Linked DNA regions of Homo sapiens: regions 1 and 2 are each linked to region 3. Evidence: promoter capture Hi-C in 16 types of primary human blood cells and fetal thymus (Javierre and others, 2016). All regions are on one chromosome and are shown on one strand. The core of a region is centred on a gene start or on the middle of the fragment in contact, and the rest is flanking DNA. Distances in the headings are between cores, read along the strand shown. Region 1 overlaps LOC107984406 (a long non-coding RNA gene). Region 2 overlaps FAM118B (family with sequence similarity 118 member B). Region 3 holds the start of STT3A-AS1 (STT3A antisense RNA 1).

Region 1 (3,294 bases), core at 758-3,257, 650 kb before region 3:
ACAAGTCAAATAGTTTATCCAAAAGGTAATTACAGCCAAACCAGGCAGTATATTGGGGGAATGAAACTGGAAGGAAAGGAAGCCAGTAAAGGCTGCATATGAAGCAAATCACTATTGTGGGCAGCTAGAGCTTATTCCTCTTGGGAGCCCTAGGTGGTAGTAAAGAATATGCCTCCTAGGGGATAGGGAGCTGGGGTATTTATCCACCAACTGCCATCAGATATGAGCTAAGGGGCTGCTTCTGAGGGGTAAGGAGATATTAATTTCTGAGGCTTCTTACCTCCCTCTTCTAACTGCTCTCTCTCTCTATATATATATGTGTGCGTGTGAGAGAGAGAGAAAGAGAGAAAGTGCTACTCTGCATTTGACTGTGTCAACCACTATATATATAGATATTTGCTTATTTATTTCTTCCAACCCCATCTTACAAACAAGAAAACAAACTTCTGAGAGGTCAGCAGCTTGTTGAAGTCATATAGCTGTTAAGTGACAAAATTTGGATTGGATCCCAGACAGATCACCAAAAAAGCTTAGGGTTTGACCAACCCCTAATGCACCAGTAGGAATTCCTCCTCCTGGTATAAGCTTTTACCCTCCAGGACCTACTCCCTGACTAAGCTCTGGATATGAAGCAGCCCTCTCTCCCCACTCCTTGGGCCTTCTAGTATTGGTGAAGGTATTTTCTTTCTTTCTTTCTTTCTTTCTTTCTTTCTTTTTTTTTTTTTTTTTTTGAGATGGAGTCTCACTCTGTCACCCAGGTTGGAGGGTTTCACCATCTTGGCCAGGCTGGTCTTGAACTCCTGACCTCGTGATCCACCCACCTCGGCCTCCCAAACTGCTGGGATTACAGGTATGAGCCACTGTGCCTGGCCTAGTGATGAAGTTATTTTCATTTTTATTTTTTGTTGTATAAATCTATATGCAAATGGTACTGGTGTTGTCTCTACCATAAGTTTGATTTCTCCTAATGGACAGAGGACGCAGGAGGCAAACACCAGCCAGAGAATTTGTAGAGCTGCAGCACATTGCCTGGGAAACAACGAGATTGTATGAGGCTTTGTGTTGAGAGGAGGCAGGGCCCAGCTCCTACAGCAAGCTCTGAATAAGAGACAGATTAGCTAGCTCCCTTCGGAACAAAACAAGCTTTCTGTATGCCTGGACAGTGAGGAATGGCCCTCCCCAAGAACATTTTCTTTTCTATTCGTTCTCTTTCTAAAGTTCTCCTAGGTGGCCCTACTCTGGGGGCCTCAGAAAAACATCAAATAGAAAGTAGAAATGGAGTCAAAAGGCTCCTTCATCCTGAAATTGGTTTTGCTGGCTGCAGATTTCTGTAAACATGAAGAGTTACTCAGATGAAAAGGGTTCTGCAGAGATATGGTGTCTCCACAAGATGTGGAGTTTGTTGGGAGAAATACATGATCCTGGGAGTGGCATGGGGTCCTGGGTAAATTTTGGAAGGGCAGCAAGGAGGGGCTCCCATTTCTCTGCTGAAAACAGGAGAACATCAAAGTCTTTTATACTGAGAGTAAATATTTGATTTTTGAATAGAATTCCGGCCTCCTCAGAAAGTGAGAGGGACTCAGGCTTGTGTCCATGGTTGCTAAACGTGCTCTATTCAGCCACTCTCCAGAGGAACAAAGAGGAGAAATTAATTGGTATTAAAGGGCTGGAAAGATCCAGCTTTTGCTGACCTATTTAAGATGCAGCAAGGACATTCTGGAGAATATCTCTGGAGTTCTGTTCTTGTAAAGCTTCAGTGCTTAAATACAAACAGGTTGAAAAATCATGGGGAAGCCACAAATTACACCCCAACTCATGAAAGCCTTCACTGTTTCCCTTCTCCTAGATCCTCAGATGGTGTCCACCCACCAACCGTGTCAGGGGAAGGATTCGCTGCCCTCTGCCGTCGTTCACCCTCCTACCAAAGAGGGAGGCTCAGAAATGGGAATCAGCTGGCCAGCATCTGATAATTGCCTACTGTGTGAAGAACACTCTATGTTCCAAACATTAATAAAAGTGGTGGGATGTGGAAGAGGAGGAAGGCGGCACATTCAAAAGTAATAGACGACACCATCCCTGGATCCCTGTCTAGGAGCTGAAATATATTATAGCTGGGAAGGCTGCACCTACATCTATAAGCAAGTATAATTGATAAAACATTTGCATTGCCCTTTACAAATTATCTTTTAGAATATTATTTTATTTAGCCTTCTAACAACGCTGTGCAGTGGGATTTTTTTTTCCATTTTTCAAGGAGGATCATGAAGCTTAGAGAGGTTAAATAACCTGCTCCAAGTCACACATTTTACAAGTTGGCACAGCCTAGACTCAACTGTGCTTCCTGTCTAATGTTCATAATGCTGTACCCCTGAAAGAGGTTTCCTTCACATTTGCAAGTTGGCACAGCTTAGACTCAGCTGTGCTTCCTGTCTAGTGTTCATAATGCTGTACCCCTGAAAGAGGTTGCCTTCAGCCAGGCCCAGAAGTAAAAACTAAGTAGGAAAAGGAGAGTTCTGAGACAAGATGTGAGAAAAGGGATCAGGCAGGTGACAGGACCATAAAAAAAAAAAAAAGCTTAGTAAGCAAGGGAAACTGGGCCCCCACAGGTTAGGCCAGGGACACTAAGAAGATAGATTTGTGATACACAGGATTCAATATGGGGAGGGACCACATTTCTTAAAAGGAGGCCCTAGCTAAGTTGTCAGCAGAGGTGTCTTGAAGACAGCCCCCAATTTTCCCCTTGTTGCAGTACTTACAGGATTTGGCTTTGTCTAGTTTAAAGATCCATGCCAAAGTCAGGCCTCCAAGATTCTGCATCTGGTTTGTGGCCCGACAAACTAAGGAATGTGATTTGTCAAGATCATTTGATTGTAAGTGACTGAAGTTCAACTGGAACTATCTGAAGCAAAAAGGGAAGAATTTCTTGCATTATGTAACAAAATTTTTCAGGGAGCAGGAATAATTGGAAATAAGACAGTATTTTATATCTGTGCTGTCAAATATAGTAGCCATTAATTAGCCCCGTGTGGCTAGTGGGACTGAGGAAATACATTATAAATTTCATTTAATTGTAATTAAACTTAACACATGTATCTAGTGGTTAACATATTGGACAGTGCAGCTTGTCATGCGGGCAGGAGAAGAAGACTCTTGATGGAACTAGTTAAAAAATAATCTTGGCAAAAGGCCATGGCTTAGGTCACATGCACAGCTCTGGATCAATCACTGTAGCAAGGAGACTAGAACACTATCCCAGGCTGGGCCATGTACTTAACCCCACAGTCACAGGTGGGG
Region 2 (3,404 bases), core at 76-2,575, 660 kb after region 3:
TCCTTGGGCCTCAAGATTTGCATTGTATTTTCAGCCCACATTAGGGGCAGTGTTGCAGTCTAATGGTTAAAGACATTGACTGGTAGTCAGAATGGGGCCTAGTAACATTCAAATTCTAAATCTCGGTGCCTCTTGACTACTTTCCTGATTCATAGCCTATTTCTCCAAAATGTGATAAGAATAAATGTATGCTGTCTCCAGTCCTTGGGAAAATGGAGCCATGGAATCAGGTGGCTATTGCATTCGCTGTTGTCTAAATGATTGTTCTTCGCTGGCAGCCTTTTAGGTTCCTCAGAGGTGACTGAAGTGATTTTTCTATCACTTATCTATTGCTGTACAAGTAATGGCCGTGAAACTTTGTGGCTTGTAACAACAAATATCTTATCTGCCCATGATAAAGTATATTAACAATTTGAACTGGGCTCAGTGACTCAGCCAGGCATTTTTTCTGCTGATTTTTGCACCCTCTTCACATACCTGCAGACATCTGATGGCCGCACCAGGGCTGAGTGATATAAGGGGACCATACTTCCCTGCAAGCAATTGGCCAGGCCATATATGTCCCAGCAGGCTAGCCCAGGCTTCTTCACTTTCTTCGCATGGCAGCTGGATTCCAAAAGTAACACAAGAGAAGTAAGACTTCTTGTGCCAACACTTTTCAAGCTTCTGCTTGTGTGTGTTTGCTAGTATCCCATTGGCTAAAAGCAAGCCATGTGGTTAGCCTGGAGTCACTCCGAAGAGGGGCCACACAAGGGCCTGGATACAGAGGCTTGATTTCTTGGGGCGATCACTGAAGCAGTTGTCCATAGCTCTCATGCATGCCACCAGTGCAAAGGGTCCCTGTTGTTTCTGCAAATTATGACAAATTGTGATTTTTGATGCTTACTTTCAAAGAGAAATCACCAAATTTGTTGCCATCATTCTTGACAGTCATTCCTGAAGTGGAAACTTAGACCACATCAGGTTTTGCATTCTTGTCCTATATCATGAAGCTAGAGAGTTTATGTCAGAAGTCTAGTCCTCAAAACAGCCTCTTGCCCATTGTGACCTTTAAACAGGTGCTCAGCCCTGCCAAGCTGGTTGGGCTATATGTGTGTTGTGCAGGTCCTCGAGTGGGCTCAGGAGAAGCGTAAGCTGAGCGTGTTGCATATTCACGGAGTCTACACCAACCCTAGTGGCATTGTCCTTCATCCGGCTGGATATCAGAACGTGCTCAGGAACACTGAAGTCATGGTGAGTGGGGCTGATCTTGCTGGTCTCAGGAACTCCTTCCTGGGAAATCTCTCTAAATATGCCATAGATCTTAAAGGGGAACATCTTCTTTTCATTAAGTGAAAACGGAAGGTCAGGGGCTAGGAGCAGTGGCTCATGCCTATAATCCCAACACTTTGGGAGGCCAAGGGGAGAGGATCACCTGAGGCCAGGAGTTCGAGACCAGCCTGGGCAACATAGCGAGACTCTTGTCTTTACAAAAATAAAATTAGCTAGGCATCATGGTGCATGCTGTCCCAGCTACTTGGGAGGCTGAGGCAGGAAGATTAGTTGAGACTAGGAATATAAGGCTGTAGTGAGCTGTGTCTAGAGCCACTGCACTCCAGCTTGGGTGACAGAGCAAGGCCCTATCTCTAAAAAAAGAAAGAAACTGGAAAGTCAGACGTTCTTCCTGTGCTTCTTAACTTATGGGTGTGCATGCTGTCTAGGAAATGTAGAATTTCTCTTAAGGTGTCAAACCCTATGATCTTTGTTTGTACTTAATTGACAACCAGCAGATGGCATGTCATCATTGGCATCATCTTCACATACAAAGGATACATTAGTACCCTTTATCATCATTTGGTTTATTAATAGCCCTCTCTGTGTCAGAAATAATTGAGGCAGCTTCTTAACAAACCAACCACTACTAGAGAATACATTCTAAAGAGACTTTGTATAAATGGCAATGGGCTTATATTGAATTAACCACATTTATTCACACTTACTCTTTGTGAAAAGCTTATTGATCTTTTGGGATGCACATTTTCGACTTGTTCAGATAAACATGTTCAAACCAGAAGTATTCGCTGCCCCCAGCTCTAAGAATCTTGTTTGCTGTTTTCAGGACTGGGTCATATAGATTATAGCATCTTTTAATAATGAGGCAAAAGACCGAGAAAATGTATTGTCTAAAGCACAAGGGACTTTTTTTTCTTTTTACCCATTCTTTCCCAACATCTGCCATAACTGCATCCATCTCTGACATTGAGTGATCCCTTAGGCAGTCATTTCTGTGTTTTTGTGTGTGTATATGTATACACACACACACACATACTGATGTTCTAAGTATCAAACGCCTTTCCTTGAGCAAATCCGATGATGGAATTATCTTCTCTGGTGATTCACAGTTCAGTTTGTGAGACAAAGGCAAATATGGTCCAGAAATGGAAGGATTAAGATATATGAAGACCTACTCTTTGCACAATGACCTCTGGGCACATAAATCTAAAAAAGTACGCCTGTAATCCCAACACTTTGGGAGGCTGAGGCAGGCAGATCACATGAGGTCAGGAGTTCCAGACCAGCCTGGCCAACATGGTGAAACCCTGTCTCTACTAAAAATAGGAAAATTAGCTGGGCGTGCTGGCAGGTGCCTGTAATGCCAGCTACTTGGGAGTCTGAGGCAGGAGAATCGCTTGAACCTGGGAGGCAGAGGAGGTTGCAGTGAGCCAAGACCATGCCACTGCACTCCAGCCTAGGTGGCAGAGCAAGACTCTGTCTCAAAAATAAAATAAAAATAAAAAAGTAAACTACTGGCCAAGTGCAGTGGCTCACGCCTGTAATCCCAGCACTTTGGGAGGCCAAGGTGGGTGGATCACTCGAGGTCGGGAGTACCAGACCAGCCTGGCCAACATGGCAAAACCCCGTCTCTACTAAACATTCAAAAATTAGCTGGGTGTGGTGGTGCACACTTGTAATATACTCGGGAGGCTGAGGCATGAGAGTCACTTGAACCAGGGTGGTGGAGGTTGCAGTAAGCCGAGGTCACACCACTACACTCTAGCCCAGGTGAAAGAGTGAGACTCCGTCTCAAAAAATATATAAAGCATAAAAAATAAAGAAGTAAACTACTGCACCAGTACACTGACACCAGCTCTATGAAACGCTGATTAGAGAGCCTACAGAAGAATGGCAGGTAAAGATAAAATTTTAGACCAATCATCAAGTTACAGCAATAAGCAAGAGATCACACTCCTTGATGGGACATACCAACCCACTTAAGTCTTGCTTAATTGGTCATCACAGTCTGCTCAACGTAGCATGACCTTCTTGTTTCAGACTTGCCTTGAGTGTGTCTTCACAATGTCAATATGTTGTATCTTTTCCTTCCAGAGAGAAATTCAGAAACTCTACGAAAACAAGTCATTTCT
Region 3 (3,172 bases), core at 346-2,845:
CACCAAGCCCAGCTAATTTTTGTATTTTTAGTAGAGATGGGGTTTCACCATGTTGGTGAGGCTGTTCTCAAACTCCTGACCTCAGGTGATTCACCCGCCTCGGCCTCCCAAAGTGCTGGGATTACAGGCGTGAGCCACCGCGACCGGCCTTAATATTCTTAGGTTAATACTTAAAAAAAAACAAAAGAAACTTGAACACAATCTTTCTAATTTTAATGCCCCCCTCCCCGCTTTTTTATTTTTAAAGAGAAAAAACTTCTTTTTGAGACGGAGTCCAGCTCTGTCGCCAGGCTGGAGTGCAGTGGCACGATCTCGGCTCACTGCAACCTCCGACTCCCTGGTTCAAGTGATTCTGTGTCAGCCTCCCGAGTAGCTGGGATTACAGGCACGCGCCACCACGCCCAGCTAATTTTTCTATTTTTAGTAGAGACGGGTTTCACCATGTTGGCCAGGATGGTCTCTACCTCCTGACCTCGTGATCCGCCCGCCTTGGCCTCCCAAAGTGCTGGGATTACAGGGGTGAGCCACCGCGCCCGACCAAAACTCGTATTTTGAAGAAGCATTTACTCCAAGTTCTGTAATTCCTTCAGGCTCAGCTTCAGTTTCCTTTTGTTAAAGTAAAATTACATCGAACACTTACTACTAAAAACAAAACCAAAAAAAAGCAGATCTATTGAATCATAACGTCCTGGGGCGAGCCTGGTCATGTGGATTTTGAAAAAAATGCATGTGATTCTGAAGCAGTGATTTAAATAATGACCTTTCAATAAGTGGTGGGTTCCGTTCATGGGAGAATAGGAAACTGCGTGAGTGGTAGAGGCAACAAGTTCGAAGAGCTGCGAGACGTTCCCACTCTCTCTGGTGTAGCCTTGGCTCACCGAGGCGCGCAGGGAGTGGAAGTGCCTGAGGATAAAGGTGTACACGTGCGAGTCTGAGATGATGGAATTGCTGCTCAAACTTCGTCCCCTTCTCTGCCCTCAGCAAACTTATTGGGGGTCGGGGAGCGCGTGGGGTGCGAGAGAAGAGAGGCAAGTTAGGATAGGGAGAGCGGCTCTCTGGCCGGTATTTTAACAAAGGGCTGAACTGACTAAGCATGGCCGGGCTGCCTCCCGGTCTCCCGAGGAAGCCCGCTTGCTGCTGGGGAGGGCTGTGCCTCCGCGGCGGTGGCTGTCTCAGCTGGCAGTAGAAATGCTTCCAGCTTAGCCCCGACAACCCCTTTAGGCCTAGGCACGCTCTTTCACAAAACCAGGGGCTGTGAACTCTGTCAAGGTTCCCAGGTCCATCGCAGTTACCAAGGCACAGTAAAAGCTCGAGTCAACTATCAGGCACATCCTGCAAAAGACGAACTGTCTGGACCAGTCCGCGTTTGAGTTTTAATTGAGAATAAATAGGTAGAAAATGCTTCCCTCCTCTCCTTTCACCTTGTATTAGGTAACAATTTCTACCTTAAAAAAGACGGGAGACGAGCGGCTCCGCATTCCGAGTTACTGGGACTTGGAGCAAGGGCCTATTTCAGCGTAGTTTCCGCTTCTTGTCACATGACGGGAGTCAGTGGGCCGCGCCTTCCCACTGCGACTCCCCGTGGGTCCGCAAACCGACACGTCACTCCTCGGCCCTCAACCAAACTGCTTGGGGCACGTTCTTTCCGCGCTCTTGACTCCTACGCGCCGGCCTATGACAGCTCGGCGGGAGCATACAGACCTGCCTCTAGACTGCTAAGTGATAGCTGTAATGACCAATTAAAAACTTGAATCGCGGCCCGGTTTACGCCTCCGGATTTGACAGACAGTTCCGAGACCCTATCGCTCTCCAGAAGCGTCCTATTGGCCTGGAGCCAGCCAACGGGGGAGCGGTCCGGGAGGCGGACCCGGCTCCTGCCAGGGTTGGGTGCGCCGCTGAACGGATGGCTGAGGGAGCCCCGCGGATCGTTTAGGAAAGCCGGCCAGGTGAGAAGGCCGTAGAACGTAACTTGAAAATCAGCGGCAGGTGCAGTCCATGGCGTTGATGGGGCTGAACGAAGTGCAGGAGGCAAAACTCTAAATGGGGGTGGAGAGCAGAGCTTAGGGCCTTGCAGAGGAGGGGGCGTGGGGCGTGGTGTGGGGGCTTCCTGGATGGAAGGATGCGAAGGTCTAGGGAGGGAGGGTAAGGTGGGTCTTGAGAACAGAGCGTGGGAAAGACTGGGTCCTGGGACTAGTTATGGAGGGGAAGGCGCGTAGGATGCTGGGGTGATGAGTGTCCCGCGCTGAGGGGTATCAGAGGTGGTCAGTTCTTTGAGGGTGGGAAGAAGAGGGAGGTGGGACCCGCTGGAACGACCGGAAGGGAGAAGAGAGTAAAAGATCGTGAGAGGGTGTGGAAACGTGTGTAGGAAAACGGGGCTGGGGAAATTGCAGTCTGGGAAACTAGAGGCAGGGTGGCAGGAGATGCCACAGCTTGCAGGGCACAGTTGAGGAGAGCAGGTTGGTAAGTGTTTTAAGAAAGGTGTCTTTGCTCTTATTTGCTTGGCGGTGTGCGAAAGTGACCAAAGAGCACGAGATGAAATCTCCCTTACGGCCCTGCCCTCAATGACTAGCTCGTTTACTCAAGTTTTCAAGTAGAGATCCTAGCAGTCTCATTTTGGTGTGTGGCTCGTATCAACGCAGTGGTGTTAAGTTTGTTCCTATTTCAGGCATTCCAGAAAACAGCTGCAAACCCTGAGAGATATGGCTGGATTGTTGACCTCCTGGAGTAGTTAGGCCTTTATTTTTAGTTGCAAAGTAAGCTTTCCCTTTGGGACTATACTTAAACACATTTCTAAACTGCTCTTCTGGGACAGTTAATTATGGAGAACATGCTTGACTTCTCAGTGTTGGGGCTAGCATTCTATATGCCTTCCACCTAGTCCAGTGTTGTTGTTGTTTTGTTTTTCTCCTTTATTCCAATAATAGTGGGAAAAAAGATTCATGGAGGAGGATAGACAAACGTTTGTTAAGGGATACACAAGTACAACTAGATAGGAATAAATTCTAGTGTTCTATAGGATAACTATTATTAGGAGTATAATTAACAACAAAAATACACAATTTGTTGTATATTTTCAGATAGCTAGAAGAGTGGATTTTGAATATTCCTAAGACAAAAAAAATAAGGTGATGAATCTACTAATTATTTCCCGACTTGATCATTACACATTATA

What was found. The method cuts DNA at HindIII sites, captures the fragments that hold promoters and counts their contacts. A CHiCAGO score of 5 or more calls a contact.
Region 1: a fragment that was not itself captured here is called in contact with the fragment with the promoter of STT3A-AS1 in region 3 in 1 of 17 cell types (naive CD8 T cells); the score reaches 5.7 in naive CD8 T cells.
Region 2: a contact is called between a fragment that was not itself captured here and the fragment with the promoter of STT3A-AS1 in region 3, in 3 of 17 cell types (non-activated CD4 T cells, naive CD8 T cells and M2 macrophages). The highest score is 10.1, in non-activated CD4 T cells.

What each region holds. Positions count from the first base shown.
Region 1 is chr11:124,941,554-124,944,847 of GRCh38, forward strand. LOC107984406 (a long non-coding RNA gene) reads left to right here. Exons shown (of 2, transcript XR_001748429.3): 2 at 1,847-2,037. Among named protein-coding and RNA genes, the nearest start is that of HEPACAM, 7.2 kb to the left of the region's middle. The HindIII fragment of the contact is 516 bases long and covers 1,750-2,265 here.
Region 2 is chr11:126,253,201-126,256,604 of GRCh38, forward strand. It overlaps FAM118B (family with sequence similarity 118 member B), which reads left to right. Exons shown (of 9, transcript NM_024556.4): 6 at 1,105-1,233; 7 at 3,367-3,404. It also overlaps a transcript of SRPRA not described here. Among named protein-coding and RNA genes, the nearest start is that of SRPRA, 14 kb to the right of the region's middle. The HindIII fragment of the contact is 1,329 bases long and covers 662-1,990 here.
Region 3 is chr11:125,590,973-125,594,144 of GRCh38, forward strand. It overlaps STT3A-AS1 (STT3A antisense RNA 1), which reads right to left and starts at 1,596. Exons shown (of 4, transcript NR_132372.1): 1 at 1,446-1,596. STT3A (STT3 oligosaccharyltransferase complex catalytic subunit A) reads left to right here and starts at 1,880. Exons shown (of 18, transcript NM_152713.5): 1 at 1,880-1,946. RefSeq lists enhancers at 865-1,034, 1,152-1,746. The HindIII fragment of the contact is 3,144 bases long and covers 1-2,756 here.